7 separate regions of the Homo sapiens genome follow, and regions 1, 2, 3, 4, 6 and 7 are each linked to region 5. Evidence: promoter capture Hi-C in 16 types of primary human blood cells and fetal thymus (Javierre and others, 2016). All regions are on one chromosome and are shown on one strand. The core of a region is centred on a gene start or on the middle of the fragment in contact, and the rest is flanking DNA. Distances in the headings are between cores, read along the strand shown.

Region 1 (2,700 bases), core at 150-2,649, 2.4 Mb after region 5:
AATAATATTCTCCAAACAATGTGCTACATTCTTCACAAGTCTGTTGGGCCTAAAAAAGAAACATAATTAAAAACTGCAATAAACTAAACATTTTGAGTTACCATTTGAATATCTAGAACTTATGTTCAACTATATGCAGTTTATTTTTATAAGTTTTGAAACACCTAAACCAAAGATATTGCTTATTCTAGAAGTTAAAGAAATCTTATTTATGATACTTTTGATTAAATTTTTTCAAACCACCTTAATACAGCTTTTAAAAAGAAAATAGAAATGTCATAAAATCTTACATGTTGAATTTTTTCACAGTTTATGCACTGCACTTCCTTCACTTTAAAGCGATCTAGTTGATGATCTTCATTGTTATCATGACACAAGCGGCAAGTATAAAGCTTGTCACAGCAAGGTGCCTAACACCCACGGAGAAAAAAGAGATATAGTAAGAAGCAAAAGAAACTAAGTGTGCAATACAAAAAGAAAATTTCTTCCTCCTCCTCCTGGATGGAACTGAAAGATTACAACCAATAGATCAGTTGCTAAACTGATCCTAAACATAACATTTCACTAGTTTCTTGGCATATTTTATGTTAATTCTTCCCTTCAACATCACTACGTCTGTATGAAGTTGAACACAACTTTAAAACAAAAGAATTATGAAGGAAATCCCTAGATTGAAACACTAATCCCACAACACCTGATATGCTTTGGCTGTGTTCCCACCCAAATCTCAACTTGAAATGTATCTCCCAGAATTCCCACGTGTTGTGGGAGGGACTTAGAAGGAGGTAACTGAATCATGGGGGCCAGACTCTCCCGTGCCATTCTCGTGATAATGAATAAAATCTCATGAGATCTGATGGGTTTATCAGGAGTTTCCACTTTTGCTTCTTCCTCATTTTCTATTGCCACCACCATGTAAGAAGTGCCTTTTGTCTCCCGCCATGATTCTCAGGCCTCCCTAGCCATGTGGAACTGTAAGTCCAATTAAACCTCTTTTTCTTCCCAGTCTTGGGTATGTCTTTATCAGCAGTGTGAAAACAGACTAATATAACACCCCAATTTCATTCTGAGCCTAAACAGCAAACAGGCAACCTCTTCTTAGACATTTCCAGATAAATTCATTTACATTAAAAATAATAAAGATTATATTCTTATTTTACTAGCTTTTATTAATCATCAACCTCATATCTAATATTGCACAAAATGCAACAAATGTAAGAGACAGCCCTTGTTTTCAAACACGGCAAAGACTGCCAGTTGTCCACCAAAATCTATCCTCTCCTTCCTGGGCACAATTGTTCAGCTATATCAGACAGATGGCCACATGCCCTAAAACATGACAAAATGATACAACAGAAAAATCTCATCCCTGGAGTGACCATGTGGAGCAAAGCCTCATCACCAACCTGCATCACTCGCCTTGGAATTGTTAAATGGAAAGAAATAAAACCTTTACTCTTTAATCTACATCACTGTTGGGTTTTTTCATTACAGCAACTTTACCATTACAAGTATATCAAGAGATTTCCAGGCCAGTGACTTTCCAATACACTGTGACCTTGCAGATCCACTCATTTCTGAAGGCTTCCTATGCCTTGACTTACCATAACGTAGTTCATTCCTTAAAGATTTTAACACTTAACTGGCTTCCTTTTTCTGCAACTCTCAGTTCCTTAACTTTGTCATTTCCAATAACCTTGTCCTCCAACCCACTATTCTCATAGTTATACCGCAGAACAGTAGTTCTCAAATGGTTTGGTCTCAGGATCCCTTCACACTTTTTAAAATTACTGAGAATCCCAAAGAGCTTTGGTTTATGTGGATTTTATCTATTGACATATACCACATCATAAATTAAAAAGAATAGGTTTTTAAAATATTACTTCTTTTTAAAAGTAACAAACTCATTACTTGTTAACATAAATAACATGTTTTAATGAAAAATAACTATATTTTTCCCCCCAAACAGCTGAATTCTTCTATCTGCTTATGCATTCAAACAGTTGTGGCTGAAGTACAAAAAGAAACTCTGGCCTCACACAAATATGTACACTGGAAAAGAAAGGAGTATTTTAATAGCCTTTTTGGAGAATTATGGATATCATTCTCTGATATTACACTAGAACAACAACTCTTAAAGGGTAGTTGCAACATGAAATCTGAAATCGTATCAAGGAATATGATTGATATGATGCCTCTTTTCTTCCTTGGTTACATTAAAATCTATTGCTCTATCTTGCACTTCAAATGGATGTTTTACTCATGCATTGGTCATCTGGAGAATACCAGTTCAGTGAGTTATTTACATCTTCTAAATGTTCACACATTTAACATGCAATATCAAAAAATCATATTCATTAAAAGTCTTTAGGTATTGAAGAAAATCTCACCAAAAAAAGTCTTTTAAAAAGCTTCCAACCTCACAAAAGCTAGTAAAAGTTTTCCAAAATTCTAATTTTTGTGTGAAAGCTTGAATTTTATCACTGGCAACAAATACTGTCATTTTCATTTGTAGTGAGTCTCACTTTTCTCCTTTTTGAGAAAATGTCTGCCAACTACCCAAATGTGAATGACTACAATTTTTTCAAGTAAAAAATGCTGTTCCATGAAAAAAAGCAACTAGTTCACTTTACAATCCAATTTGCACAAGAGCTTTTCCTCAAGACAACCCTCTAATTTCAGTTTGCAGAAGTGTTTGAT
Region 2 (3,021 bases), core at 510-3,009, 2.3 Mb before region 5:
TGGTCTTGAACTCCTGACCTCAAGTGATCCACCCACTTAGGTCTCCCAAAGTGCTGGGATTACAGACGTGAGATACCGCGCCCAGCCTGATCTTTTAAAATTTCTTGCAGCAAAGTTTTATAGTTTTCCATGTACAAGTCTTGTACTTCTTTTGTTAAGTTTATTGGTAAATATTTTTCTGGTGCTATTGTAAATGGAATTGTTTTTAAATTTCTTTTTCGAATTGTTTGTTGCTAATGTATACAAATATAATTAATTTTTGTGTATTGATCTTGTACCTTACAACCTTGCCAAACTCATTTTATGTACATACTTTGTGTGTGTGTGTGTGGATTCCTTAGGATTTTTTATATACAAGATCATGTCATCTGCAAATATAGTTTTACTTCTTCCTTTTCAAACTGGATGCCTTTCATTTCCTTTTCTTGCCTACTTGCCCTGGCAAGACTCGCCTATACAATTTGGTTAGAAGTAGCAAAAGTGGGCATCCTTGTCTTGTTCCTGATCTTTGAGAAAGCCTTCAGTCTTTTGCCATCAAGTTTGTTAGCTGTGAGTTTTTTGTAGATGCCCTTTGTCAAGCTAAGGAAGTTCTTTCTCTTCCTAGTTTGTTGAATGTTTTTATCATTAATGGATATTGGAACTTGTCAAGTACTTTGTCTGCTTCTAATGAAATGACCATGTGATGTCTTTCTTTACTCTGTTAATTTGGTGTATTACACTGATTGAGTTTTGTGTGTTGGACCGACCTTGCATTCTGTGATTAATCCCACTTGGTCCAGTTATATAATCCTTCTTATATGTTTCTGGATTTGGTTTACCAGTATTTTGTTAAGGATTTTTGTGTCTGTATTCATAAGGAGTATTGATCTATAGTTTTCTTATGATATCTTTATCTGATTTGGTCTCAAGGTAATATTAGTGTCATAGAATGAGTTCGGAAGTTCTCTCTTCTAATTTTTGGAATAGTCTGTCAAGGATTGGTGTCAATTCCTTAAATGACTGGTAGATTTTAACAACGAGACTATCTGGTCCTGGCCTCCTCTGTATGCTATTTTTTTATTATTATTACTAATTCAGGATCTTTACTTGTAGGTCTGTTCAGATTTCCTATTTCTTCTTATGTCAGTTTTGGTAGTTTGTGTCTAAGAAATTGTCCATTTTGTCTAGATTATCTAATATGTTGACATACAGTTGTCCGTAGTATTCCCTTATAATCCTTGTTTCTGTAATGTCAATACTACTGTCCCCTCTTTCATTCCCGATTTTAGTAATTTGAATCTTCTCCCTTTTCTACTGATCAGTCTAGCTAAATGTCAGTATTGTTAATCTTGTCAAAGAGCCAACTTTGGATTTTATTGATTTTTCTCAGTAGTTGTTTTTGCTTTTTAATTTATTTCTGATCTAATCTTTATTATTTCCTTCCTCCTAGGGCTTTCTACTTATATACATGTATGTTGGTTGCCCTTGATGAAGCCAACTGTGAAATCATGGAATTATAATATGCTAGCTAGGAGAGTGATCTAGGCCAGTGCTTCTCAAACTTTAATGCACATACAGATTGCTTGGGGATCTAGTTAAAGTGCAAAACCTGATTCAGTGGTAGTGTTGAAGTCTACAGCTTCCCTTGTCTAAAAGCTTTCCTGGTTATGCCAGTGTTGATGTTCTGAGACCAGAGAGTAGAAAGGATCTAGTTCATTTGGTATCAATCATTTGTGGGATTTTCCAAACAGAACATGTCATTTCTCTGGTTCCAGGTATATTAATATGTCTCTCCCTTTGAGAATCAGTGCTGCTATATGTCATTATGACTATTATGAATGTGCATGGTTTCCAAGGGAAAAAACTGAACAAGCCCAACCCTCTCATTTTACTGATGAGGAAATTGAAGCTTCAAAGGGGTGAGATTTCTTGCCTGAAGTCATATAATAGGTTAATTGGCTCCATGGATGAGTATATTAATCCTTTCTGATGACAAGTCCTAACTCAGTGAAGTTCATCATTGATTATACTGTTACCAAGAAAAGGTAGCAATGAGGACAAGTAAATTTATGGTTAATTTTTTTTTTTTTTTCGAGATGGAGTTTTGCTGTTGTCGCCCAGGCTGGATGGAGTGCAATGGCACAATCTTGGCTCACTGCAGTTTCTGCCTGCCGGGTTCAAGTGATTCTCCTGCCTCAGCCTCCTGAGTAGCTGGGATTACAGGTGCCTGGCACCACACCCAGCTAACTTTTGTACTTTTAGTAGAGATGGGGCTTCCCCATGTTGGCCAGGCTGGTCTCGAACTCCTGACCTCAGGTAATCCACCTGCCTCGGCCTCCCAAAGTGCTGGGATTACAGGTGTGAGCCACCAAGCCTGGCTGGTTAATTTTTTTGACTAACCCCTTTAACAGATTTCAATCCAGAGAAAATGTTACTTAAGTAAATTTTCTTATTATTGAGTAGAAATATGATACCTGAGACGCCATTAAGAATAGATAGATATAGTTATGGATATAGATATATAGATATTCTAAGGGTCCTAAGACTCTATTATAATTTTTTTTTTTTTTTGTAAATGAGGATAGAATAAAAGTTCATGATTGTCTCATACAAATAAGTGTCATCAGGCTAACTAAATGGTGTTTTATTACAAGGTCTTTTTCAGTACTTTCACTTCTTTCTTTCACAATTAAGGACTCATTTTCTGTCCAGTTTTATACGCTAAGGTCTTTTTAGTACTTTCACTTCTTTCTTTCACAATCAAGGACTCATTTTCTGTCCAGTTTTATACTCTAAGAACAATTATTGCAAAAGTTCAAAATAGATTTATTTAAAATTATTGTTCTTCAGTCATTCCCAACATAGAGTAAGCTTTTCTTTCTATATGTTTCTGTTAGTTTGTTGTTTTTAATCTCATATTAAAGCTTTTTTTTTTTTCTTTTTTTCTTGAGACGGGGGTATCACTCTATCTCCCAGGCTGGAATGCAGTGGTGTGATCTTGGCTCACTGCAACCTCCGCTTCCCGGGTTGAAGCGATTCTCC
Region 3 (2,903 bases), core at 135-2,634, 2.7 Mb after region 5:
AGATTAAGCCTCATCTGAAGTAACAGACTTCTCAGTAACATGAGCTAGTAGGGCTGGAGTTGAAGACTTACAGGGTAATATCTTTAAACGTTCAGTTGTTAAGAAATTGATAATACCGTGGCTCACGCCTGTAATCCCAGCACTTTGGGAGGCCGAGGCGGGCGGATCACGAGGTCAGGAGATCGAGACCATCCCGGCTAAAACGGTGAAACCCCGTCTCTACTAAAAATACAAAAAATTAGCCGGGCTTAGTGGCGGGCGCCTGTAGTCCCAGCTACTTGGGAGGCTGAGGCAGGAGAATGGTGTGAACCCGGGAGGCGGAGCTTGCAGTGAGCCGAGATCCCGCCACTGCACTCCAGCCTGGGCGACAGAGCAAGACTCCGTCTCAAAAAAAAAAAAAAAAAAAAGAAATTGATAATACCGAAGATGATCAGGGTCTCCACTCTAATCATTATTGAGTACTTACTATGTTTCAAGTACTAAGTAATATGAACGTTACAGATATTATCTAATAAAATCCCAAAAACAACCACAGGAGGCAACAATTACCATTCCTTTAAAAAAAAGTAAAGCAGGAACTCTGGGCTCTATAGCATGTGAGACACCTCAACTATTCCAAGTCCTTACCTTGGTCTCATTTCTTTTTTGAGACGGAGTTTCGCTCTTGTTGCGCAGGCTGGAGGGCAATGGCAAGATCCTGGCTCACTGCAACCTCCGCCTCCCAGTTTAAGCGATTCTCCTGCCTCAGCCTCCCGAGTAGCTAGGATTACAGGCATGCACCACCACGCTCGGCTAATTCTGTATTTTTAGTAGAGACGGGATTTCTCCATGTTGGTCAGGCTGGTCTCAAGCTCCCGACCTCAGGTGATCCACCCGCCTCGGCCTCCCAAAGTGCTGGGATTACAAGGGTGAGTTACCGTGCCCGGCCTGGTCTCATTTCTTATCTCCTGAGAGAGGTAGCTGTCCAACATTTTAGCCTCTGAATCTTTTTGTTCAAGCGAAACAGGAAGTATAAACAAATGAAACCAATCAAATGGAGCAGGATGGGGGGGCCCAGAACCCTTTTTTTTTTTTGAGAAAGGGTCTCACTCCGTCACCTGGGCTGGAGTGCAGTGGCACAATCTTGACTCACTGCAACTTCAAGCAATTCTCATGCCTCAGCCTCCTGCGCATAGCTGGAATGATAGGCCACCACGCCCAGCTACCAAAACCTTCTTTCTTGGACTCTCCTCTCCCAAGGATTTCCTAAGGCTTTTAAAAATATTTTGAGGGCGCCGGGCGCGGTGGCTCATGCCTGTAATCCCAGCACTCTGGGAGGCCGAGGCGGGCGGATCACGAGATGAGGAGATCGAGACCACGGAGAAACTCCGTCTCTACCAAAAATACAAAAAATTAGCCGGGCGCGGTGGCGGGCGCCTGTAGTCCCAGCTACTCCAGAGGCTGAGGCAGGAGAATGGCATGAACCCAGGAGGCAGAGCTTGCAGTGAGCTGAGATCGCGTCACTGCACTCCAGCCTGGGCAACAGAGCGAGACTCCGTCTCAAAAAAAAAAAAAAAAATATTTTGAGGGCTAGGCGCGGTGGCTCACGCACTTTGAGAGGCTGAGGCAGGCGGATCATAAGGTCAGGAGATCGAGGCCATCCTAACTAACACGGTGAAAACCTGTCTCTACTAAAAATACAAAAAATTAGCCAGGCATGGTGGCATGTGCCTCTATTCCCAGCTACTTGGAAGGCTGAGGCAGGAGAATCGCTTGAACCCGGGAGGCCGAGGTTGCAGTGAGCCGAGATCGCGCCACTACACTCCAGCCTGGGTGACAGAGCGAGGCTCCATCTCAAAATAAATAAATAAATAAATAAATAAATAAATAAATAAATAAATAAAAATATTTTGAAGCCTGGGGCAGTTGGCTCACACCTGCAATCCCAGTATTTTGGGAGGCTGAGGCAGGAGAATAGCTTGAGGCCGGGAGTTTGACATCAGTCTGGGTAACATAGCAAGACTTCATCTCTACAAAAAAAAAAAAAAAAAAAAAATTAGCCAGGCATGATGGTGTGCACCTGTAGTCCTAGCTACTCAGGAGGCTGAGGCAGGAAGAGCTCTTGAACCCAGGAGTTCCAGGATGTATGTGCCACCACGCCGAGCTAATTTTGTATTTTTAGTAGACAACGGGGTTTCTCCATGTTGGTCAGGCTGGTCTGGAACTCCCAACTTCAGGTGATCCGTCCACCTCAGCCTCCCAAAGTGCTGGGATTACAGGCGTGAGCCACCTCGCCCAGCCTCAACTAGTCTTTTTTTTTTTTTTTTGGGACAGGGTCTCACTCCATCCTCCCAGCTGGAATGCAGTGGCACAATCATGGCTCAATGCAGCCTTGATCTCCCAGGCTCCAGCGATCCTCCCACACCCTCCCAAGTAAGTGGGACTACTGGCTGGGAATACAGGCGCATGCCACCATGCTCAGCTAATATTTTATTTTTTGTAGAGACAGGGTTTTGCCACATTGCCCAGGCTGGTGTTGAACTCCTGAGCTTAAATGATCCTCCCACCTTGGCCTCCCAAAGTGCTGGGATTATAGCCATGAGCTACGTCTTTAAAAACCTATATACGATACTGAAGGGGCTTATAACCTACCAAAATAATAAATAAATAAAAACCTATATATGATAGATTTCAAATACAAATGATCATTTATATTTATCCTCCCAAGCAGGCATAGACAACATTCCACCTTACTACCACCCCAACTAAAAAACAATCTTATGCAATTATATTTCGTTGTTTTTGCGAGTTTTCCACTAGAAAGTTAAGTGGGCCACTGAAAAAAGCAATTTGAAAAAATGAATTTCAAACCAATGAATTTTGTTCGTTGATCTATTGTCAGGTTTGGTTTAGAAAAAGATCAC
Region 4 (2,700 bases), core at 18-2,517, 2.6 Mb after region 5:
GTAGACTGATATTCTGGTCCTTTTTATTAATGGGAAGGAGGGAATTTAGTAATCTCTCTGAATAGGTGTCTGCAGGTTGCTGCTGTAGACGAGCTTAAAATGCAGCCGGTGATTTCAGCTGTTTGCACACTAAACTCACCTACATTGTTTACTTAACCCATCCTAGGTTTTAAGCCCCATTAAGAGGCCCTGCAGTAAAGGAAGAACATGACGTGGGCTTTACAGAGGGGGAAAAGACTATTTCTTTGTGTCCTTGTTACGAATTTAGGCATGGCTAAATATCAGTAGATACTAAAGCATTTTACATACTAAAGCTAAAAGAAGGCCTGAAATACAAGGATTACAGTCCTGTTCTAGCTCTAAGCCCAGACTTGCCCCCAGGGTGAGACACTGGTGACCTTGTTTCATGGACAAAGCCAAGCCAAATCTTGTAGTCAAGGAAGCCACTTTGCATCTTAGGTCTGGCAGTGTTTTCAGAGAATACCGAGATAGCACAGGAATTTTGGAATGAAGGACTGAGGAAGTGTTCAAAGAAACGGAAAGGAAAAAATACATTAATGAATGCTTACGAACTAAACATGGTGGACGCAAGCATGTACATCTCATCAGTTTTCTTCGCAATCCTGTAAGGGCAATTTTAAGGTATTTGGCATGTTAAGACAATACGTCAAATACCTTAAATATTGGCAGAGGCAATGCCAACATTAGGGCCTCCAAAGTCTACAATATCTTTACCTTTAGACTGCTTAAAGATACTGTTATATGCAAAATATTTGGGCAGACCATCACTTTAATGAAATCAACCTGATGTTTTTCCTTAAAGCATCAAAATACATTACATGCCGGCTGTCCTTTAATATACTGGGCTTATATACCAGGCATTCTTGTAATTATACAGCCTTCTGAGCCTCACAGTAACCCTATGAGCTAGTTGCTATATGTATGTACATATATATATATATATATATATATTTTTTTTTTTTTTTTTTTTTTAAGATGGAGTCTCTCTGTGTCGCCCAGGCTGGAGTGCAATGGCACGGTCTTGGCTCACTGCAACCTCCGCCTCCCGGGTTCAAGCGGTTCTCCTGCCTCAGGCTCCCTAGTAGCTGGGACTACAGGCGCATGCCACCACACCCAACTAATTTTTATATTTTTAGTAGAGACGAGGTTTCACTATGTTGGCCAGGCTGGTCTCGAACACACCTGACCTCGTGATCCGCCCGCCTTGGCCTCCTAAAGTGTTGGGATTACAGGCGTGAGCCACCGCACCCGGCCAGTAGTTGCTATTTTTATGCCCATTTTATAGATGAGAAAACAGGCTTGGAGAGGTCAAGTAACTTACCCAGGACTACACTGCTACTATTCACTGGAGCTGGGATTCAAACACAGGCAATCTGCCTCCACAGTCCATACCCTCAGGCAAACTATAGAATACTCCCATTGTACTAATTGCCGCAATTCACTTATCTGCCCTACTGCTGACTAACCTTCAAGTGTTTCCGGTTTGGAGCTCTTCCGTGCAATGCTATTATAAATATTCTTCACCATGTATCCTGCAGAGGTGCAGAACTTTCTCTAGAGCAGTGGTTCTCAGACCTTAATGTGCACCGAAATCACCTGTAGGGCTTGTTAAAACAGATAGTTGGGCCCCACTCCCTAAGTTTCTGATTCAACAGAGGCCCGAGAATTTGCACTTCTAACAAGTTCTCAGCTGATGGTGCTACTGCTGCTCTAGGAGCCACACTTTAAAAACCACTGATATAGGCCGGGCGCGGCAGCTCACGACTGTAATCCCAGCACTTTGGAAGGCCGAGGGGGGCGGATCACCTGAGGTCAGGAGTTTGAGACCAGCCTGACCAACATGGAGAAACCTCGTCTCTACTAAAAATACAAAATTAGCCGGGCGTGGTGGCGCATGCCTGTAATCCCAGCTACTCGGGAGGCTGAGGCAGGAGAATCGCTTGAACCTGGGAGGCGGAGGTTGCGGTGAGCTGAGATCGCGCTATTGCACTCCAGCCTGGGTGACAACAGTGAAAACTCCGTCTCAAAAAAAACAAACACCACTGATCTAGGGCAGAGGTGGGCAAACGGTTTGATAAGGGAAGGATTAGATAGTAAATATTTTTGGTTTTGAGCGCCACGTATGGTTTCTGTTGCATATTCCTCTCTCTCTCGCATCCTTTAAAAATTTAAGAAACATTTTTAGTTTAGCTCTAGAGCTACACAGAAACAGCCCTCAGGTAACCCTGCTCTTGAGTAGACACCAATAAGTGGAGTTAATGGGAAAAAAGATTCAGCGATCTTCAATGTTAAGTAAATATCTCTAACCTATTCTAACTGGCGATTTTTACCTCATAAACATATCTCTACACAAATAGCCCCTGCCCAGGTTCAGGCCCCTTCATCTTCCCAGGAAGACTGCAGTGGCCTCCTAACTAATCTCCCTGCCTCTCAAACATAGCCTCCATGAAGCAATGTCCACCTCCTATAGACTAGGCAGGGAGACCAGTGTGAACGGTATTCATTCGGTGGCTCAGGCCAAAAACCTCTTTTTCTCACACCAATTTATTGACAGCCAATTGCCAATAATTTTTTTTTTTTTTTTTTTTTTTTGAGATGGAGTCTCGCTCTGTCATCCAGGCTGGAGTGCAATGGCATGATCTGGGCTGACTGCAACCTCCACCTCCCAGGTTCAAGCCA
Region 5 (2,968 bases), core at 142-2,641:
TCCATGTGATCCTGTGCAAGTAACTTAACCTCTAAAATCATGTTCCCTCACATATAAAATATATAACAGCACCTACTTCACAGGGTTACAAATATTAGATAAGAACTGCACCCTGGGCTTTACTGTTCCATCTCTACATTTCCTAGTAACGTAAGCGGAGAAAACAGCAGTTTGTTAAGAACCTTTAATACACTGTGATAGCCACAAATCAAAAGTAAAAATAGCATTTATTCCTGCCCTGTGCTCATTCTTCCTGTAAAATGGCTCACTGCCTTAATGTTGCTGCTGATTCCGTTCCTGTTTTGTTTCCGGTTTTTTTTCCCCATGCTCACAACCTGAAAACAAGAAAGCCACTATTTTTGAAATATCCCATTTGAATAATCAAGCACTTTAACCCGTATTATCTGACTTGCTCTGATAACGCTGTGAAGTAGGCAAGGAAGGTACTGCTAGCCTGATTCCTCAGAAAAAAGGATTCAGCATTAAAAGGTCAAGTAACTGCGACCAACCAGACACAGTCTTAGTCGGGTCTGGAGAGGAAACAAGTTCGCAAACTGTTAGTCTAGTAGTTTCTTCCTAATAAGAAAGACCAGCTGGAATACTTTGGGACGAAAGACACTGCAGACATACTGGCTATTAAAACTTTTAAGACATAAATTTTGTAGGTTTCGCCAACACAATTTCTTCTGCGACTGATTTCTTTGTCTCCGTTCCCCGAGAGCAAGTATAGTAACCACTTGTGCTTGGAGCACAAATCCAGTAAGACAAAAGAAATGACAGGTACACGTGTCACAAAGTATCTTATTTAACACACCTAATGCTAGTTCAATTTTTTTTAACGCTAAAATGGTCACAATGAAATGGTCACGATGATTAAACACTAAGCACTGCAGAAGGCAACATCGTGCGATCGAAAACCCTGAGTGAATGTCGGCCTTCCTCCGCCGCAGGGGTTGCAGCGCAGGGTACGCGCACGGCTCGGCGCCCCTCACCTTGGCCAGGATGTAGTGCTGGTAGGCTGCCAAAGGCAGCGTGACAGCACCCCGTAAGGCCACGGTGGAGAGCAGAATGCTGCCCCACCAGGGCAGGCCCGTGGCGGCGTGCACGCCGAGCAGTACTTCCTCCGCAACCCGCACCGGCGAAGACGCGGCCAGGGCCTCGTACCAGCCGTTCGCATGTACTGCAGAGACTGGTGCCACTGCCCACACTGGGAGAGTGGGGCGCTTGGCGCCGCTCGTAGGAACCGGCGCAAGCGGCAGGTCCCTAGCCCAAAGCTGCAGGGCAGGGAGCGGCCGCAGCCACCGACCGCCGAGCCGGCACAGCATTTCTGCACCACGGCGGAGCCCAGATCCCGGGCCTCACAATCCAGCGGACATACACCGGCCAGCCAAGGCTGATACGCGCACGCGCCAGCAACAGCGGGCATAAAGCGCATGCGCGCCTGCCTGCAGCCGCGATTGACCTTCCCAGTCAAGCCGGTGACGTCTTGCGTCGCAGTGGATGTGACGCAAGAGATAGGAAAGTCCCGCCTTTCCCACGCGGCACTGGACAGGCCTACTGCGCACACGCGAAAGTTTCCCGCTGCTAGGGTGTAGTTAGTCCGAGGCCGGACCAAAACTGCAGAGACATGGGTGGAGCCTGCTGCCCTCCGCCAGGCTGGGTGTTCTTTAGGGAGCTCTCGCCTTGTAAAGTTCATCTACACCGTGTAACTTACCATTCTTTTTCACTAAAGCTAATAGTCATTTGTAGTGGAATTATCCTTGCTCGGTTTTTTGTGACCAGAAGCTGATCCCCAACCTCTTTACGTGCACCTGATTGCTTCCGTTAGCGATTACGATAGATTATCATACTCAAGAGTCACACGTTGCTAAAGTACCTGCTTGTAGAGAGACGCATGTTTCTTGCTGACTCTGAGTGTTAAGCACGAGGGATAGTTCAGTCTCTTGTAGATTTAATTGGCCCATCTGTTCCAGTTAGTATTTGGACCACCAACTGCAAACTGAATTTCTTCGGTGTTTTGTCTTCCATGATAAATAGCAGCAAAAATCTTATAGTAAAAGTATCATCTCTTTATTTAAGGGAAACTATCACTGGCAGTACGGTGAATTCCTTGAGTTTACTTGTATCCTATATAAGCTTTAAAGAGCCTGAACAGCAGCACTGGCTGTCTTCTGGTTTAAAGGAATACGTTGAATCTACATGGACTATATAGTTTTAACTTTTGTGTTCCTGGAAACAACAAAATGGAATGTTGTGGAGGAGTTTCCTCACCGAAGGGTCACCCCTAGACTACAGACTAAAATATGTTGTGAGGAGTAAACCTTGATTTTTATTTATTTATTTATTTACTTACTTAGGAAAAGAAGCCTCCAACAATGTTGGGTAATGTCAAACGCCAGCTATTGTTTGCCCTTCACTGTGCACCTAACCAAGGGTACCCTACGATAACTTTCTCAGGATTCTGGAATTCATCTGCTTTCCAAACTGACTGATAAATCTATACATGAATTTTTAAATGTGTTTAAACACACAGCACAACACACACTATATATAAACTTTTTCTAAAAGAAAAACCTACCAATCTATTTCTTTATCCATTTATTAAGCTAACAAAAAAGCCATCAGTTGCTACTGACTACTGTTCAGCTGTTCATAATCTGAACAGAATTTTAAAGTTATTTTTGCTAGACACAGTGGATCACGCCTGTAATCCCAGCACTTTGGGAGGCCAAGATGGGAGGATACCTTAAGGGCAGAAGTTAGAGATCAGCCTTGGCAACATGGCAAGACCTCATCTCTACAACAAATACAAAAATCATCCAGATGTGGTGGCTTGCATCTGTGGTCTCAGCTACCAGGAGGCTAAGGCGGGAGAATTGCTTGAGCCCCCCGGAGTCCAAGGCTGCAGCGAGCAATGATCGAGCCAGTGCACTCCAGCCTGGGTAGCAACAAGATTCCCATCTCTTTA
Region 6 (2,792 bases), core at 158-2,657, 2.4 Mb after region 5:
ATATATTTTTATAAACTAATTAAGCTACTCCTTATCTAAACAACCTTAATTTCTTAATACACTCATGTAAAGAGACTGTATTTGTTTAAAATTATTCAGATATTATTTCCTTTCTAAAAATTTGAAAAAAAGAATGCTCTCTCTAGCTCTTCACATTTTTGCTCATCAATATGTAGGACCAAAATACAGTCTTCTCTTTTCAATTATTTTCATCTAATTTTAATATCTTTTCCATTAATAAAGTCTTAGCTTTAATGATCACTTCACCTACTTTCTTTTAGTTTACTATACTTGGCCAATATAACAACCTAACAAATTTTTGGCAATATTTTTCAGCATTTTTACAACACTATAACTGCATCTGGCAAAAACTGCACTTCCTGGTATATATGGCCAGAAAAAAAAGAGGTAACTACCTCAAATTGTGGGAGGAGACAAGATTTAAGAGAAACATATGGCAAAAGTGTAGTTCTATATCCAAGACACTTTGTCCTGTTTTAACAATATTCATCTACCCTACCCATTTCAATATAAATATTGCCATGCCCAATATAGTATAAGTAACAATGTTTGTCCACCTCCCCACACCACACACACAAAAAAGTCAAACATCTTACAATTATTTTTAAAATCCCAAACACTCACTCTTTCAACATTTCTTCATAACACGTTCTGAAAGAAAATATAAGATTATTTTAGTAAAACAAAAACTGTCTCCACTATTTTCAAACATCATTGAGAAAAAGATGTTACTTTACCTATGTAAAAGATGTCCACATGGCAAGACATGAGCAACAACACGGGATGTGTGAATGTCCTGTAAATGAAATAAATGTTAGTGCTTGTATGAAGACAATATAAACATCCAAGTATTTTAAATTCAAGAGCTGAGACTTCCAAAGTAAAAAATATTTTAAGCCTACCTCCAAACATATTGGACAATTCTGTCGGGACACATTTTCAATACACTGTTTAAAAGAGAAATTCACATTAACAAAAGCTTAACTAGATTAAAATGTCAGGTATAAAAATATTAATAATAAAAATTAACAAAACCAACTTACTAAAAATAATAGCTAACATTAATATATGCTTTTTATATGTAAGAAGAGTTTTTTAATAGTTATTTAAATCTCACACTATTTCAGGCTTGGCATATTATCTGATACAATGAAAATGTCAATAAACATTATTGAGATTACCTTCATTTCACAAATAAGGAAAGTGACTTAGGAATTCAAGACACTTACCCAAGATCCAAAGATAATAAGATTTGGAACCTTTGCATATTATGTATGTTTTACTCCAAAGCCAGTGACCTAAATTAGTAAGCTCAACTTACTAATAATATTGGTAATAATAGTTCATATTATTGAAATTTACTACATGCCATGTTCAGCACAGTACCTGTATAAGATCAATTAAATCTCACAATCCTAGATGAAATAGGCTATGATTGTTATACCATTTTACAGTTAAAGCAGTGGAGGCCTAGAGAAGCTAAGGAACTTCCAAAGTCACACATTAATAAGAGGCAGAATTAAACTGGAGCTCCAGCAGGCTAACTTCAGAGCCAGAGTTCTTAATTTGACAAGATGTAATGTCTGATTAAATCCAAGGAGGTAAGGGAAAGCACTGTGCCATGGAAGACTCCCAGGTTTTTAACGGAAGCACTTAATAGATGGCAGGACCACTTAGTAATATAGACAATAAAAGATAACTGAAAAACAACATAACAAAAAAAACCATAACAAAAAAATAGATGTAAGTTTTTGAAAGATGACAGTATAGTGGGGAGAAAAACCCTCAAAATAATAAGCTTAATAGTAAGTTTAAAAATCTAGACTGTAATCCTAGCTCTGCTATTTACCAGCCCTTGAGATTTTGGACTAGCCACCACTTTAGTCTTAACGTTTCTTATTTATAAAATAAAATTAATACATATTTCATTTGATTCTAAAGTGCACCTCACACATACATTTTAACATCCCCACAATTACAACATATCTGATCATCAGTGGCATCTCTGAGTTGATGGAATGTAAATGCTGAGGTGAGGATGCAATGAATTAGTGTGTGCACACACACTACACATGCTTTGGAAACCAGAACATCATAGAAATGTAATCTATAAGATACTATTGACTCCTGGCTATCTCCATTAGCATAGCTTGCCATCACCCCAAACTCAAGTTTAAAAACCAAACTCAATCTTTTATCTTCAAAAAATTTACAATCTACTAATCAAGTACCTTAAGCTGGGGCTGAAAATCTTCAGAGTCATCTTTACTCTGCCTCATTCTTTTTCCTTAATACCATTACCACATCATATATGTTCATTATTCATCTCAATTTTCCTCACCACTTTACTATTTAGGCCAAGTTCTAGCTAATATTATATTTCTGCAATAACTTCTTATTCTTATATTCTATCGAACCTACTATACTGCTAAGTAAATGATTTCAAACAGTCTCTTTCCAATTAATGTCTATCTGTCTCTCTCTCTCTCAACAGCTACAATGTTGCTACTTATACTGTTCTGCCTTATCTGGAATTTCCTATACTTGAACAAGTACGATTTACACTTCACTTTACACCAATCCTCCATTCTCTTAATTAAATTCTTACAGTAGATAGAATCAGTACTATAATGTAATACTTTATTAGATTTTTTTTTAAATAATGAAAAAGGGCCTGGGATTGTGACATAATTCCTACATCCAGATTTAAAATATGTATGTCTTAATTATAAAAAGAAATAGTAAAATATTTTCTGAATTTTCTTAGAATG
Region 7 (2,928 bases), core at 110-2,609, 2.4 Mb before region 5:
TCGGGAGGCTGAGGGAGGAGAATCACTTGAACCAGGGGGTCGGAGGTTGCAGTGGGCCGAGATTGCCACTGCACTCCAGCCTGGCAACAGAGCGAGCCTCCGTCTCAAAAAAAAAAAAAGAAAAAAAGAAAAAGAAAAAAGAAACAAAAAACAAAAGAAAAAGAAATTGTCACCATTAATTTTATTTTATTTATTTATTTATTTATTTTGAGACAGAGTCTCTGTCTGTCGCCCAGGCTAGAGTGCAGTGGTGCGATATCGGCTTACTGCCACCTCCGCCTCCCGGGTTCAAGTGATTCTCCTGCCTCAACCTCCCGAGTAGCTGGGATTACAGGTACCCGCCACCACGCCCCGCTAATTTTTTGTATTTGTAGTAGAGACTGGGTTTCCCCATGTTGGCCAGGCTGGTTTTGCACTCCTGACCTCAAGTGATCCACCCACTTCGGCCTCCCAAAGTGCTTAGGATTATGGGCATGAGCCACCGCGCCCAGCCATGTCACCATTAATTTTAGCAACGTATCAAAAGTTCAGCTTCCAACTACCTACATTAAAAGGTATAATAATACTAACCCTGAACCTTACATATGTAATGCCTAAAAACTTACACCCTGAATTACTCTAACATTACAGGGCAGACTTCCTTGAGAAGAGTCAGACCCTGCAGCGGGGCTCTGCCTTCCCACTGTCAGCCTCGGGGTCATCTAGCTTTATCGATCCCCATGGAGCGGGTCACCGAGCCCTGTGAGCAGGGAGAGGGCGATGGGGATGAGTAAACCCGAGCCGGAGGCCCGGCCTGCGCTCTCGCCCGGAAACCTCCCGTGGGATTCTGGAGTCCAGCGGCGCTGCCTGAGGCTGTGGTACCCAGAAATATGGTATTGGGGGTGGGGGTGAAATGAGAGGAAAGCAATCTGATTAACTTCCAGCCTGATAAGCAGAAAAGAGAAAACAAGGGAGCAGGAAAACTACGCTAGCACTAGACTGCCGGTCGCAAGCGCCGGGTACACACGCAGTTAAACCTCAATGGAACGCCCCCGGGACTTCTCCGGGGCGTAAAGCGCAGCGCCCTCTATTGGCCATCGGGACCTCGCCTGGAGGTGCCGTCAGGATTCCGTCCCCCAGCCACTCCCAGGCACTCGAGAGTAAGCGCATTAGCCCGAGAAAGCGTTCTGTGGAACGGAACTTCCTTATCCTATCGTTTCCACACGGAAAGATTTTAATTCACCGGAATCGACTGGCGTTAAAGGGCACAGTGAAAAGGAAGTTGGTATCAACGTGATCTCGACTAAGGGACCGAGCGGAAGTCCTCAATCGTACGCCACGCGGAGAGCATGCTGGGGGCCGGAAGGAAGAGGAAATTCCAGTAGCCGATCAGGAGTCTGCAAACTCCGGTGGTAGGGGAGCGCGCTGCTGTTTAGAGCCACGAGTTACCGGAGCGCCTGATTCCTGCGCCGAAGTCAGTGGTGGCCGAAAGTCCGGAGTCGCTGTAAAACCTGAGATTGTGAGCCATGGTGGGGAGATCCCGGCGGCGCGGAGCAGCTAAGTGGGCAGCTGTGCGAGCCAAGGCAGGTCCCACGCTCACCGACGAAAATGGAGATGATTTAGGATTGCCACCCTCACCAGGGGACACCAGCTACTACCAAGATCAGGTAGATGACTTTCATGAGGCACGATCCCGGGCCGCCTTAGCTAAGGGCTGGAATGAAGTACAGAGTGGAGACGAGGAGGATGGCGAGGAGGAGGAGGAGGAGGTGCTAGCCCTAGATATGGACGATGAGGACGACGAAGATGGAGGGAATGCGGGGGAGGAGGAGGAGGAGGAGAATGCCGATGATGATGGTGGGAGCTCCGTGCAAAGTGAAGCTGAGGCCTCTGTGGATCCCAGTTTGTCGTGGGGTCAGAGGAAAAAACTTTACTATGACACGGACTATGGTTCCAAGTCCCGAGGCCGGCAGAGTCAACAGGAGGCAGAGGAGGAGGAAAGAGAGGAGGAGGAGGAGGCACAGATCATTCAGCGGCGCCTAGCCCAAGCGCTGCAAGAGGATGATTTTGGTGTCGCCTGGGTTGAGGCCTTTGCAAAACCAGTGCCTCAGGTAGATGAGGCTGAGACACGGGTCGTGAAGGATTTGGCTAAAGTTTCAGTGAAAGAGAAGCTGAAAATGTTGCGAAAGGAATCACCAGAACTCTTGGAGCTGATAGAAGACCTGAAAGTCAAGTTGACAGAGGTTAAGGATGAGCTGGAGCCATTGTTAGAGTTGGTGGAACAAGGGATCATTCCACCCGGAAAAGGAAGCCAATACTTGAGGACCAAGTACAACCTCTACTTGAATTATTGCTCGAACATCAGTTTTTATTTGATCCTGAAAGCTAGGAGAGTCCCAGCACATGGACATCCTGTCATAGAAAGGCTTGTTACCTACCGAAATTTGATCAACAAGCTGTCCGTTGTGGATCAGAAGCTGTCCTCAGAAATTCGTCATCTGTTGACACTTAAGGATGATGCTGTAAAGAAAGAACTGATTCCAAAAGCAAAATCCACCAAGCCCAAACCAAAGTCTGTTTCAAAGACTTCTGCTGCTGCCTGTGCTGTTACAGATCTTTCTGATGATTCTGATTTTGATGAAAAAGCAAAACTGAAGTACTATAAAGAAATAGAAGACAGGCAAAAGCTAAAGAGAAAGAAAGAAGAAAATAGCACTGAAGAACAGGCTCTTGAAGATCAAAATGCAAAGAGAGCTATTACCTATCAAATTGCTAAAAATAGGGGACTTACTCCTAGGAGAAAGAAGATTGATCGCAATCCCAGAGTGAAACACAGAGAGAAGTTCAGAAGAGCCAAAATTAGAAGAAGAGGCCAGGTTCGTGAAGTTCGTAAAGAAGAGCAACGTTATAGTGGTGAATTATCTGGCATTCGTGCAGGAGTTAAAAAGA

The links. The method cuts DNA at HindIII sites, captures the fragments that hold promoters and counts their contacts. A CHiCAGO score of 5 or more calls a contact.
Region 1: a fragment that was not itself captured here is called in contact with the fragment with the promoter of COX18 in region 5 in 1 of 17 cell types (total CD4 T cells); the score reaches 5.0 in total CD4 T cells.
Region 2: a fragment that was not itself captured here is called in contact with the fragment with the promoter of COX18 in region 5 in 2 of 17 cell types (total B cells and naive B cells); the score reaches 7.0 in total B cells.
Region 3: a fragment that was not itself captured here is called in contact with the fragment with the promoter of COX18 in region 5 in 2 of 17 cell types (non-activated CD4 T cells and fetal thymus); the score reaches 8.6 in non-activated CD4 T cells.
Region 4: a contact is called between a fragment that was not itself captured here and the fragment with the promoter of COX18 in region 5, in 2 of 17 cell types (total B cells and non-activated CD4 T cells). The highest score is 7.3, in total B cells.
Region 6: a contact is called between a fragment that was not itself captured here and the fragment with the promoter of COX18 in region 5, in 1 of 17 cell types (total CD4 T cells). The highest score is 5.2, in total CD4 T cells.
Region 7: a contact is called between the fragment with the promoter of UTP3 here and the fragment with the promoter of COX18 in region 5, in 10 of 17 cell types (non-activated CD4 T cells, activated CD4 T cells, naive CD8 T cells and 7 more). The highest score is 16.3, in non-activated CD4 T cells.

The regions. Positions count from the first base shown.
Region 1 is chr4:75,508,887-75,511,586 of GRCh38, forward strand. It overlaps RCHY1 (ring finger and CHY zinc finger domain containing 1), which reads right to left. Exons shown (of 9, transcript NM_015436.4): 2 at 291-410; 3 at 1-49. Among named protein-coding and RNA genes, the nearest start is that of RCHY1, 4.2 kb to the right of the region's middle. The HindIII fragment of the contact is 2,019 bases long and covers 391-2,409 here.
Region 2 is chr4:70,751,994-70,755,014 of GRCh38, forward strand. All of the region lies in intron 1 of RUFY3 (RUN and FYVE domain containing 3), which reads left to right. Among named protein-coding and RNA genes, the nearest start is that of RUFY3, 32 kb to the left of the region's middle. The HindIII fragment of the contact is 253 bases long and covers 1,634-1,886 here.
Region 3 is chr4:75,718,961-75,721,863 of GRCh38, forward strand. It overlaps a transcript of G3BP2 not described here. Among named protein-coding and RNA genes, the nearest start is that of USO1, 4.2 kb to the right of the region's middle. The HindIII fragment of the contact is 5,465 bases long and covers 1-2,903 here.
Region 4 is chr4:75,673,748-75,676,447 of GRCh38, forward strand. It overlaps a transcript of G3BP2 not described here. Among named protein-coding and RNA genes, the nearest start is that of G3BP2, 1.7 kb to the left of the region's middle. RefSeq lists enhancers at 500-1,477, 1,478-2,454. The HindIII fragment of the contact is 4,310 bases long and covers 1-2,700 here.
Region 5 is chr4:73,068,325-73,071,292 of GRCh38, forward strand. It overlaps COX18 (cytochrome c oxidase assembly factor COX18), which reads right to left and starts at 1,392. Exons shown (of 6, transcript NM_001297732.2): 1 at 993-1,392. The coding sequence starts at 1,325. LOC112268467 (a long non-coding RNA gene) reads left to right here and starts at 1,622. Exons shown (of 2, transcript XR_002959797.2): 1 at 1,622-1,705. RefSeq lists enhancers at 711-1,226, 1,161-1,680, 1,227-1,743. The HindIII fragment of the contact is 3,732 bases long and covers 1-2,134 here.
Region 6 is chr4:75,490,966-75,493,757 of GRCh38, forward strand. It overlaps RCHY1 (ring finger and CHY zinc finger domain containing 1), which reads right to left. Exons shown (of 9, transcript NM_015436.4): 5 at 924-968; 6 at 759-817; 7 at 646-672. Among named protein-coding and RNA genes, the nearest start is that of RCHY1, 22 kb to the right of the region's middle. The HindIII fragment of the contact is 819 bases long and covers 999-1,817 here.
Region 7 is chr4:70,687,173-70,690,100 of GRCh38, forward strand. It overlaps UTP3 (UTP3 small subunit processome component), which reads left to right and starts at 1,360. Exons shown (of 1, transcript NM_020368.3): 1 at 1,360-2,928. The coding sequence starts at 1,506. RefSeq lists enhancers at 285-1,255, 636-725, 1,256-2,224, 1,426-1,485. The HindIII fragment of the contact is 6,672 bases long and covers 1-2,928 here.